Regions from separate parts of the Homo sapiens genome. Here regions 2, 3 and 4 are each linked to region 1. Evidence: promoter capture Hi-C in human tissues and cell types (Jung and others, 2019). All regions are on one chromosome and are shown on one strand. Each heading gives the region's core, a stretch centred on a gene start or on the middle of the fragment in contact. The rest is flanking DNA. Distances are from core to core; before and after follow the strand shown. Region 1 holds the start of NOL11 (nucleolar protein 11). Region 2 overlaps PITPNC1 (phosphatidylinositol transfer protein cytoplasmic 1). Region 3 overlaps BPTF (bromodomain PHD finger transcription factor). Region 4 overlaps BPTF (bromodomain PHD finger transcription factor).

Region 1 (2,508 bases), core at 1-2,500:
CTCAAGTGATCCACCCACCTGGGCCTCCCGAAGTTCTGGGATTACAGGCGTGAACCACCGCGTCCGGCCAAACCTCTAAAAGGGTAGTTAAAATGAAAATATAACTAAGTTCCTAAATAAGTAAATAAGCAACCCTTTGTTAAAAAAACAATAGTACATTTAAAAATTGATTATATTATGCCTCTGCATGGGAAGTTATGCCTCTGAACAGCGGCATGGGAAATTAAGTAGGGACATCTGGGATCATGTCTATCCAATTCCAATCTGCCATTGTATTCCTATGCAGGAGCTGCAAAACTGCAAATCTACTTGACATCCCAAGTGAAACCCAATAGAGTTAGCAGAGTCAAAACGGCACAGGGAGCTGTTAGCAACCTGTTCTCAAAACGTCAAAGCAGATACCTAACTTCTTTAAAACATGGAAAACTATGTTCAGCAGCCCAGAGAAAAGTAACTGCTTTCTATGCGACCACCAAAAGCAAGGTTAGAAAGTGTTCTCTATCAGGCTTTAGGCTGAAATGGGGGCAGGGCTTGCAGATTTTCCCAGGACTCAACTCCAGGATTCCCAGCGTGAATCAGAGATGCCAACAGACAACTCACTTGGAGGCAAGATTCTTAGCGAGCTATCAAGAAAGTCCCTCACTCTCTAAAATTGTCCCCGCCCCTACAAAGAGAGGGGTGTGAAGTGTAGACACGGCTAAACCACTATTCCCACTCTGTCAGTGTCATCCTCTCCCGCCCAACCAATCTCCGTTCCATCCTCCCGCGGGCGGCTAAGATAATAAAGACCCTAGGAGGGAATCTTAGCAAGGCCAATTCCGCGAGTTCCGAAGCAAAAGCACAGGTTTTCTTTCTTTTCCGAGTCTAACCCACGTGCACTCAGACGCTCTGCCCCTGCAAGTCGGAAATATGCCTTTACAGGAAGGCAAGCAAGCCAGATTCCAGACCTCACTCAGCGTCCCCAACAGGCCCAGCCGGCTCTCTGCTAAGCCTTCTCCACGATCTCTTTCTGAAGCTGTGAGAAACTTGAGCTCGAGCTCCGCGCTCAGAAAGGGGCGAGAAGGCAGTCGGGGCGCTCCCAAACCTATTGCCTTCACCTTATAGAGGATGACTGTCCTGCCGCTGTCTGTCACTAGAAACTGGTCTGTTTTGTCGCTCTGCTCCACGCCTAGGAGTCCTTCAGGCCCGGCGCTCAGGACTACCGAAGACAACGTGAATTCTTCCTCCAGCGCTGCCATTTTGAGCAAACCTAAGTACGGCCGCGCTCACTCCCGGCAGGCCTCGCGCTTTCTCTCGCGAGAATGAACGGGCCTGAGGGGGCGAGTGCTTGCCAAACCAGGAACCTGCTCTCGCAGCCTGCGACCTCTGGCGGGCGGAAGGAGCGAGCGCGACTGTGAATTTAGCCAGGTGGGCTGGGCCGGCTTGCGTCAGACTCCGCCTCCCGAGACCACGCCTCGCCGAGTCCCGGATGTGCTCCAGGAAGGGATAGGGTAGGCGCGGAAGTGCTGCTTACTGGGTCCTGAATCGGCTGCGTGCTGTTCTAGGTGGGGACTTGAGAGACTGTAGATGGGTCTAGGGAGTGGTCGAATATAAATAAGCTAGATTTTTTTTTTTTTAATTGCAAGGGAACTCCCTAGGAATTCCATCCATGGCCTTGTGGAACGATCTGCCAAAGAAAAAATATTTATCTCTGTAGGTAAACTCCCAATAACGTGCTGTTCCTACGTGAAATGCTTAATTCCCCCCAAGTTTCTTGGAACCCTCTAGAGATCTCCAGTCTTTTCAGTCTTTCAGGCCTTCTGAGTTCTCTGACTCCCCTTCTCTGAGCCCCAGTGGGGAAAATCTCTCCTCAGCTTACAGGAAATTCAGACTAGTTTGATGAAGGTGAAGTTGAAGGTCCCCTGTGTGATTTTTGGCAAGGTTTTTATTTCCGGGAGAAATGTATGTTTCTCAGATAAGCATGGCAGATTCAATCAATAATGTTAAATAAATAAGTAAAGATAAATTGTGATGTTCTTAGGGAGAAACCATTTAATAGGCAATTACTAAACAAATGTACCCAGTGTGACAAAGTGCCTCAGTTTAGATTTAAGCATCCACCAGATCGCCATGTGTGTTGTTTCTCATTGCCCCAACATGACGACATGGGCAAAAGGAGAATATCCAGCTACTGTGAAGGAATCAAATGCAGTCTATTTTTATAATGCTAATAGGTCTTTTGTTGTTCAAAAGTAGTGGCATTATCATGGCTCACTGCAGCCTCTAACTCTTGGGCTAAATAAAGCAATCCTCCTGCTTCAGCCTCCCGAATAACTGGGACTACAGGCATCCATCACCACGCCCGGCTAATTTTTGTATTTTTTGCAGACATGGAGTCTTGCTTTGTTGCCCAAGGTGATCTTGAACTCTGATAATCTTTTAATTTTTAGGCTGGGTTGTGAGATCAAGAGGATATAGTTTATTATTATGCTTCATAACTTACTTTGTGATAGGTGGTAAGAAGAAAAA
Region 2 (2,508 bases), core at 3-2,502, 230 kb after region 1:
ATGTAATAGAATAGCCTATTCCTTCCTTTGCCCACAGCGAGACTTCAACTCATGAAAACACCACCATCAATATATATTGAGTGTTCATTATATATATATAGCCCAAGACTAAGATAATATACTCTATTTCAAAACACTGCCAAAACTCCGAGAACATTTTTTGGCACATTTAAACAGCAGAATGACCATAAATTATGTAAAGGGAGAATTTTCTGAGTACATGTCAGGAAAAAATAAAATAAAAACCTCTAGCAGCAGAATTTAATGCTTAATAACTCTCATGCTAAAGTTTCAGTTTAATCAATTGTGACTTTTGATATTTTATTTAATGCGTCTAAGGAGCATCACCAGAAGAAATTTTAATACTATTGCTTCTAAATTCAATTAGAATGCTTACATTTTTATGTTAGGGTAACATTTGCAGAGCCATTCTTTAATACGCAAGTTATTAAATCCCACGGTCCCTTAATCCACATTGCAGACTAATCTAATGCATTTAAGCCGCCCCCAGAAGACAGCCTTCAGCTTGTGGCTCATACAGCGTGATAGCTTTTGCTCTTTTTTTGACCGAAGAAGTCATTTTTCTTTCCTCTTGACATCTTAAGAGTCATCTTTAATAATGTTTTTCTGTAGTTCCAATGTCCCTCAACTCCTGATCTTACAGACTAAATTGGCAAGTCAGTTGTTCTTCCGTAGAAAGATCTAACTAATTGGCCGGGTGCGGCGGCTGAGACCAGTAATCCCAGCACTTTGGGAGGCTGAGGTGGGTGGATAGAGACCAGCTTGGCCAACATGGTGAGACCCCATCTCTACTAAAAATACAAAAATTAGCCAGGGGTGGTGGTGAGTGCCTGTAATCCCAGCTACTCAGGAGGCTGAGGTAGGAGAATCGCCTGAATCCAGGAGGCGGAGGTTGCTGTGAGCCAAGATCACACCACTGCCTGGGCGACAGAGCAGTGCCTATGTCAAAAAAAAAAAAAAAAAAAAATCACCCAACTAATGATGACTCTCAGTACACAATTCTAGTTCATGGCCTAGCAGATACCCTAGTGCAAAATCCACAAATCCGGAATGAAAATGTAAGCATCCATGCCTTCCAGCATGCTCCATGCTTTTCCCACTGCGCTCATGGTAAATGCTCCCCATGGCATCACCACCGGGAACCAAACACATGCATACATACGTATATGAAGACAGTTTAGCCAAGTGGTTAAGAGTGAGGACCCTGTGGCTACACTGCCCAGGTTCAAATCCTGGCTCTACCACTCCTTACCAACCTCAGGGAAGTCACTTGACCTTTCTGAGTTTTCCATTTCCCTATTTGTAAGATGGAAACGCTAGTCATAATCAACTTTCTTGGCACAACGATCAAGAGTCAAAATAAACCAATATGTAAAAATGGTTTTGGAAGTTTTTTTTTTGAGATGGAGTCTCGCTCTGTCACCCAGGCTGGAGTGCAGTAGCATGATCTCAGCTCACTGCAACCTCCATGTCCCGGGTTCAAGCGATTCCCCTACCTCAGCCTCCAAAGTAGCTGATATTACAGGCACACACCATCACACCTGGCTAATTTTTGTATTTTTAGTAGAGTCTAGGTTTCACCATGTTGACCAGGCTGGTCTCGAACTCCTGACCTCAAGTGATCCGCCCACCTCGGCCTCCCAAAGTGCTGAGATTACAGGCATGAGCCACTGTGCCCGGCTAGAAGTTTTCATGAAAATCTTTACTCTGATTTCTTAGGGGATTGGATAAATATTTTCACAGGTCCAGACCAACTGGCAAAGTTAAAAGCCAGCAAGTTCTAAGTTAGGGCTCCACTGCCTTAAATAGTTTTCAGAACAAGGTCAGATGTAAATTAACAATGACAGAAGCCCTGAGAGAATTATACAAGCTTATGTGGCGACTGAGCTAGAGATGAATGATTTGATGCGAAGTCAAGACGGTTCCAATTTGGACTAACAAAACCTTTCAACAGAGGCTTATGATTTTAATATGGAAAAAGTTGGCTATAAATGATCTCAAGCTTAACAGAAATCTAATTAGGCAAAGTTAGAGAGTAGGAACCAACAACAACTCTCTGAGCTGGGTCTTATGCACATCTCACAGGCAAGAAAATGGAATGAAGAAAAGCGTTATTAACAGGCTGGGTGTGGAGGCTCGCCCCTGTAATCCCAGTAATTTGGGAGGCCAAGGCAGGCGGATCATCTGAGGTGGGGAGTTCGAGACCAGCCTAACCAACATGGAGAAACCCCGTCTCTACTAAAAATACAAAATAAGCCAGGCATGGTGGTACATGCCTGTAATGCCAGCTACTTGGGAGGCTGAGGCAGGAGAATCGCTTGAACCTGGGAGGTGGAGGTTGCAGTGAGCCAAGATCATGCCACGGCACTCCAGCCTGGGCAACAAGAGCAAAACTCCACCTCAAAAAAAAAAAAAAAAAGAAAGAAAACGTTAGCAAGGGTGAAGGGAGAATGGTTATTGCATGACAACCAACAGTGCTGGCTGCGT
Region 3 (2,508 bases), core at 7-2,506, 220 kb before region 1:
CTCCCCTAGAGGTAAGCACTATCCTCACTTTGATGATAACACTGTATTTCATTACTACTTCGGTATGTATCTTAGGTATATATAAGGCCACTGAGGTTCACAAACTCAGGAGCAATATTCACAAAGAATACAATGGGAATAGTGCCCCCTCCAGGCAGGCAATGCAGCAGCCCTGTATCCCTACACAAAATAGCTTAGTTTTGCCTATTTCTGAATCTTATACAAATGAAATTATAACATGTATTTTTTTTGGCAGCTACTTGCTTCTTTAGCTTACCATTATATATTTGTGAGAATCATCTGCATAGTTCTGTGTGGCTGAAGTCTATTCATTTTTATTGCTGTAGGAATATACTACAATTTACTTAGCTAACTGATTTTGATAGACACCTGAGTTGTTCTTAGTTTTTGATTCTTATGAACAATGCTGCTACCAATATTTATGCCATGTATTCTGGTGCTCACATGGCCAACAACTTCTCTAGGGATATACCTAGAAGGTATACTGGGACCTTGGGCATACACAGCTTTGACTTTACCAGACCATGTCCAGGAAGTTTCCAAAATGGCTGAACCGACTGATAGGCCCACCAGCTGTGCATGAGAATTCTTTCTGCTCTATGTCTTTGCTAACTCTTGGTTTTGTTGGACATTTAAATTTGTACCAATCTCTTAAGCATATGGTTTTAATATGTACTTCTCTCATTATTAATAAAGTTCAGCAGTTTTTTGGAATTTGGGACATTTAGATTTCTTCTTTCCTCATAATGTTGGTTTGTCCTTTTTTTTTTGTTTTTCTTTTTTTTGAGACGGAGTCTGTTGCCTAGGTTGGAGTGCAGTGGTATATCTTGGCTCGCTGCAACCTCTGCTTCTTGGGTTCAAGCAATTCTCCTGCCTCAGCCTCCCAAGCAGCTGGGATTACAGGCGTACACCACCACGCCTGACTAATTTTTGTATTTTTAGTAGAAACGGGGTTTCCCCATGTTGGCCAGGCTGGTCTGAAACTCCTGACCTCAAGTGATCCACCTGGCTTGGCCTCCCAAAACCTTGGCCCCCCAAAGTGCTGGGATTACAGGTGTGAGCCACCGCACCTTGCCTGTTTGTCTTTTTTCCTATTGATCTATCTGGATTTTTTTCTTTCTTGATTTGTAGTAATTCTTTATATATTCTGGATATGTAATAGTCCTTGGTTGGTTCTTTTCTCATTTTCTTCACTCTCTCTGTAGTGAGTTTGATGAACAGAGGTTCTTACTCTTATTTTTAAAGTAGTTGAATTTATAAATCTTTTCATTTATGGTTAGCATTTTCTATCTGTTTAGGAAAGCTATGAAGATATTCTTCTATCTTCTAAAGGTATTATAGTTTTACCTTTCACAGTTAGGACTTTCATCCTCCTGGAATTGAGTTTATGTAGAGTGAGGTAATAATGGTCCAATTTCACAGTTTCCCATGTATATTCAATTGTCCTGGCACCATTTACTGAAAAGTCATCTCTTCCTCAATGATCTGCAATGTCACCTTTGTCATATAACAAGTGTCCACATACATGGGGTTCATGTTCTGCACTCTCTACTGTTCTGTTGGTCTATCTGCCTCTCCTTATGTCTGTACCTCACTATATTAATTAGTGAAGTATTATATACTAAGTTTTTTGGTTTTTTTTAGATGAAGTCTTGCTTTGTCACCCAGGCTGGAATGCAGTGGTGCAATCTCAGCTCACTACAACCTCCGCCTCCCAGGTTCAAGCAATTCTCCTTCCTCAGCCTCCTGAGTAGCTGTGATTACAAGCGCATGCCACCACGCCCAGCTAATTTGTTTGTACTTTTAGCAGAGATGGAATTTCACCATGTTGGTCAGGCTGGTCTCAGACTCCTGACCTCAAGCAATCCACCCGCCCTGGCCTCCCAAAGTGCTGGGATTACAGGCGCAAGCCACCATGCCCAGCCTATACTAAGTTTTGATATCAAGTTATCATATATAGGGCAAATAATCCTGTTCTTCAAAGGTACAGATATTCTTAATACTTTGTACCTCCATATAAACTTTCAGTATCAGCTTGTGAAGTTTCACTAAAAACAAAACCTCTTGGGATTTTGATGGGAGCTGCATTCAATTTATTAATCAATATTAGAAGACTTGCTAACAATATCGAGTCTTGCAAGGAAGCAGCTTAATGTACTCAAATTTTATTTGTCTCATGGAGATTAGCCAACTAATAAAATTTTGGTGTTTAAAAGGGTTATCTGTCTCACTGTTTTAGCTCACTGTCTAAAGATTACTCTAGTAGTTGGGGTTTATTATATCCTGTCTAAGAGGTATTTCTGCTTGACTCCAGGAAGCAACCATTTCTTCAAATCAGCACATTTAAAAACGTATCAAAATAAGTTCATGTTTTTAAACTTACCGCAAGAATAAATAAGATCACCTCTAAAGTTAAAATAAAGCTTATGTTACTTACGTGGCCCTGTGTTAACTGAGTAAGTTGAGCCATGGTGAGCTTCACTTGTC
Region 4 (2,508 bases), core at 3-2,502, 190 kb before region 1:
GGCTCTGTTCTTGTCTCATCGAGTCACTCTGACACCCTTCTTTTGCTTTCGTTATTACTGGTGATTCAGAGAGATTTTTTGAAGAATTTGTAGAAGTCTTTCCTATACCCTTAATTCCACCCTCCAACTTGATTTTTTCGAGTCGCTGTTTTTCTTCCAGTGTAAACTGTTTAATTCTCCTTTCAAGAAGTCCATCTAGTTTGGATGATTTTGTTTTCTTTTTGTAACTAGTCCTTAGATGAAAACCCTCACTAACATTGACCACATCTACTTGAGAACTCTCCTGACAATTTACATGTGACTCTGTTTTCATGTCATCGTCTACTTCCATTGGTTCTTCCTTGCAGGGTTTATCACTGTCAGAATCTAAGAGCTCCTTCACATCTGTGAAACAAAGACATTTATATAAATGTAATTTTTACTCTGAAAGGAGGAATTTATATATATATATTTTTTTTTTTGAGATGGAGTCTCACTCTGTTGCCCAGGCTGGAGTGCAGTGGCATGATCTCAGTTCACTGCAACCTCCGCCTCCTGGGTTCAAGCAATTCTCATGCTTCAGCCTCCCAAGTAGCTGGGATTATAGGCATGTGCCACCATGCCTGGCTTATTTTTGAATTTTCAGTAGAGACAGGGTTTCGCAATGTTGGCCAGGCTGGTCTTGAACTCCTGACTTCAGGTGATCCGCCCACCTCAGCCTCCCAAAGTGCTGAGATTACAGGCATGAGCCACCACGCCCAGCCAAAAATATTTTTTTAAAGTATCTCTAGCCACATGCATTATCTAGCTTATCTAGTTTTTTTTTAAAAATGACTTGTTACAAAAGACAATGTAGTTCCTCAAAAGGTTAAACAGAGTTACCATATGATCCAGTAATTCCATTCCTAGGTATATCGCCAAGAGAAGTGAAAACGCATGGCCACAAAAAACTTCTGCATGAATGTTCATAGCAGCATTATTCGTATAGCCAAAAGAGGAAACAGCCCAATGTCCATCAACTGATGAATGGATAACAAAATGTGGCATATCCATACAGAGTATTATTCAGAAACAAAAAGAAAGTACTGATAAATGCTACAACATGGATGAACCTTAAAACCATGCTAAGTGGATGAAGCCAGCCACAAAGGACCACATATTGTCTGATTCCATTTCTATGGACTGTCCAAAATAGGCAAATCCAGAGAGACAGAAAGTAGACCACTAAGCTGGTGGCACTTTCGGGAGGGGTTGGGAAGTAACTGCTAATGGGTATGAATGAGGCTTCTTTTCAAGGTTATGAAAATGTTCTAAGATTGATGTAATAATGGTTGAACTTTGTGAATATACTAAAAGCCACTGAATTTACACTTTAATTGGGTGAATTGTATGGGATATCAATTATGTTTTGATAAAGCTGTTATCAAGAAAACACAACGCAGTACCTTTCCTGTGGTGGGACCCTGATCCAGTGCATTCTTATCACCCCCAGGCTGCCCTCCACAGCTGACTCTCCTTACCTTGGTCCTTCTTCTCAGTAATCTTTGAGATATCCATTTCATTTTGGTCTGCTCCTTTTGCAGCATCTGAACCTTTTACCTCATCTTTTTCAGAATCAGGCTCTATTTTTATTTTTTTTGGACTTCGTGAACATTTTCTTTTATCTGACTCATCCATATTTTCATCCATATTATTTTTGGCTAAAAAGAACCATGTAACGATAATTTACGTTATTTCCAGAGTATTAGCACTTTAATATGTCAAGTTTAGTGAAAATAAACAAGTAATTTCCAGCAAGTTATGTTTCATTTTTTCATTTAAAAAAAAAAAAAAGACAAAGGTCTTATTGAGTATAAGGTACCATATAATCCTATATGCCTGGCTGACCTAAAACACAGAAGGAATGCCTGAACTTCAGACATTTCAGAAAACTTTGTGAACATTTTTGGTGAAATATGATTTAGGAAATTTGTTTTAAAACACTGCAGGATAAAAAAAAAAAGGGGGGGGGGGACCTGGTGCGGTGGCTCATGCCACTGCACTCCAGCCTGGGTGACAGAGTGAGGCTCTGTGTCCAAAAATTAAAAAAAAAACAAAAAACTGTGATTCAGTAACATAGTCAGCTACAAGATAAACATTAATACTATAGGCTGGTGCGGTGGCTCATGCCTGTAATCCCAGCACTTTGAGGGGCCGAGGTGGGTGCATCACCTGAGGTCAGGAGTTTGAGACCAGCCTGGCTAACATGGTGAAACCCGATCTCTACTAAAAATACAAAAATTATCTGGGTGTGGTGGTGCACACCTGTGATCTCAGCTACTCAGGAGGCTGAGGCAGGAGAATTGCTTGAACCCAGGAGGCGGAGGTCGCAGTGAGCTGAGGTCACGCCACTGCACTCCAGCCTGGGCGACAGAGTGAGACTCCGTGTCAACAAAAAAAAAAAAAAAAAAAAAAATTGTCAGTGACAACTGAAACAAGAGTGATAAAATTTGGATGGGTGTAGTGGCTTATGCCTGTAATCCCAGCACT

Evidence for each region. Contacts are between HindIII fragments. The study calls those that stand out against the background at their distance.
Region 2: a fragment that was not itself captured here is called in contact with the fragment with the promoter of NOL11 in region 1 in 1 of the 25 tissues and cell types used here (lymphoblastoid cells).
Region 3: a fragment that was not itself captured here is called in contact with the fragment with the promoter of NOL11 in region 1 in 1 of the 25 tissues and cell types used here (H1 embryonic stem cells).
Region 4: a contact is called between a fragment that was not itself captured here and the fragment with the promoter of NOL11 in region 1, in 1 of the 25 tissues and cell types used here (small bowel).

What each region holds. Positions count from the first base shown.
Region 1 is chr17:67,716,678-67,719,185 of GRCh38, reverse strand. It overlaps NOL11 (nucleolar protein 11), which reads right to left and starts at 1,250. Exons shown (of 18, transcript NM_015462.5): 1 at 1,098-1,250. The coding sequence starts at 1,238. It overlaps LOC101928045 (a long non-coding RNA gene), which reads left to right and starts at 1,508. Exons shown (of 4, transcript NR_188294.1): 1 at 1,508-1,544. RefSeq lists enhancers at 1-77, 1,000-1,189, 1,260-1,339 and a silencer at 640-729. The HindIII fragment of the contact is 26,229 bases long and covers 1-2,508 here.
Region 2 is chr17:67,483,851-67,486,358 of GRCh38, reverse strand. All of the region lies in intron 1 of PITPNC1 (phosphatidylinositol transfer protein cytoplasmic 1), which reads right to left. Among named protein-coding and RNA genes, the nearest start is that of MIR548D2, 14 kb to the right of the region's middle. The HindIII fragment of the contact is 4,234 bases long and covers 1-2,508 here.
Region 3 is chr17:67,940,607-67,943,114 of GRCh38, reverse strand. BPTF (bromodomain PHD finger transcription factor) reads right to left here. Exons shown (of 28, transcript NM_182641.4): 19 at 2,459-2,508. Among named protein-coding and RNA genes, the nearest start is that of C17orf58, 55 kb to the left of the region's middle. The HindIII fragment of the contact is 4,368 bases long and covers 1-2,508 here.
Region 4 is chr17:67,908,753-67,911,260 of GRCh38, reverse strand. It overlaps BPTF (bromodomain PHD finger transcription factor), which reads right to left. Exons shown (of 28, transcript NM_182641.4): 10 at 1,500-1,679; 11 at 1-384. Among named protein-coding and RNA genes, the nearest start is that of BPTF, 85 kb to the right of the region's middle. The HindIII fragment of the contact is 6,108 bases long and covers 1-2,508 here.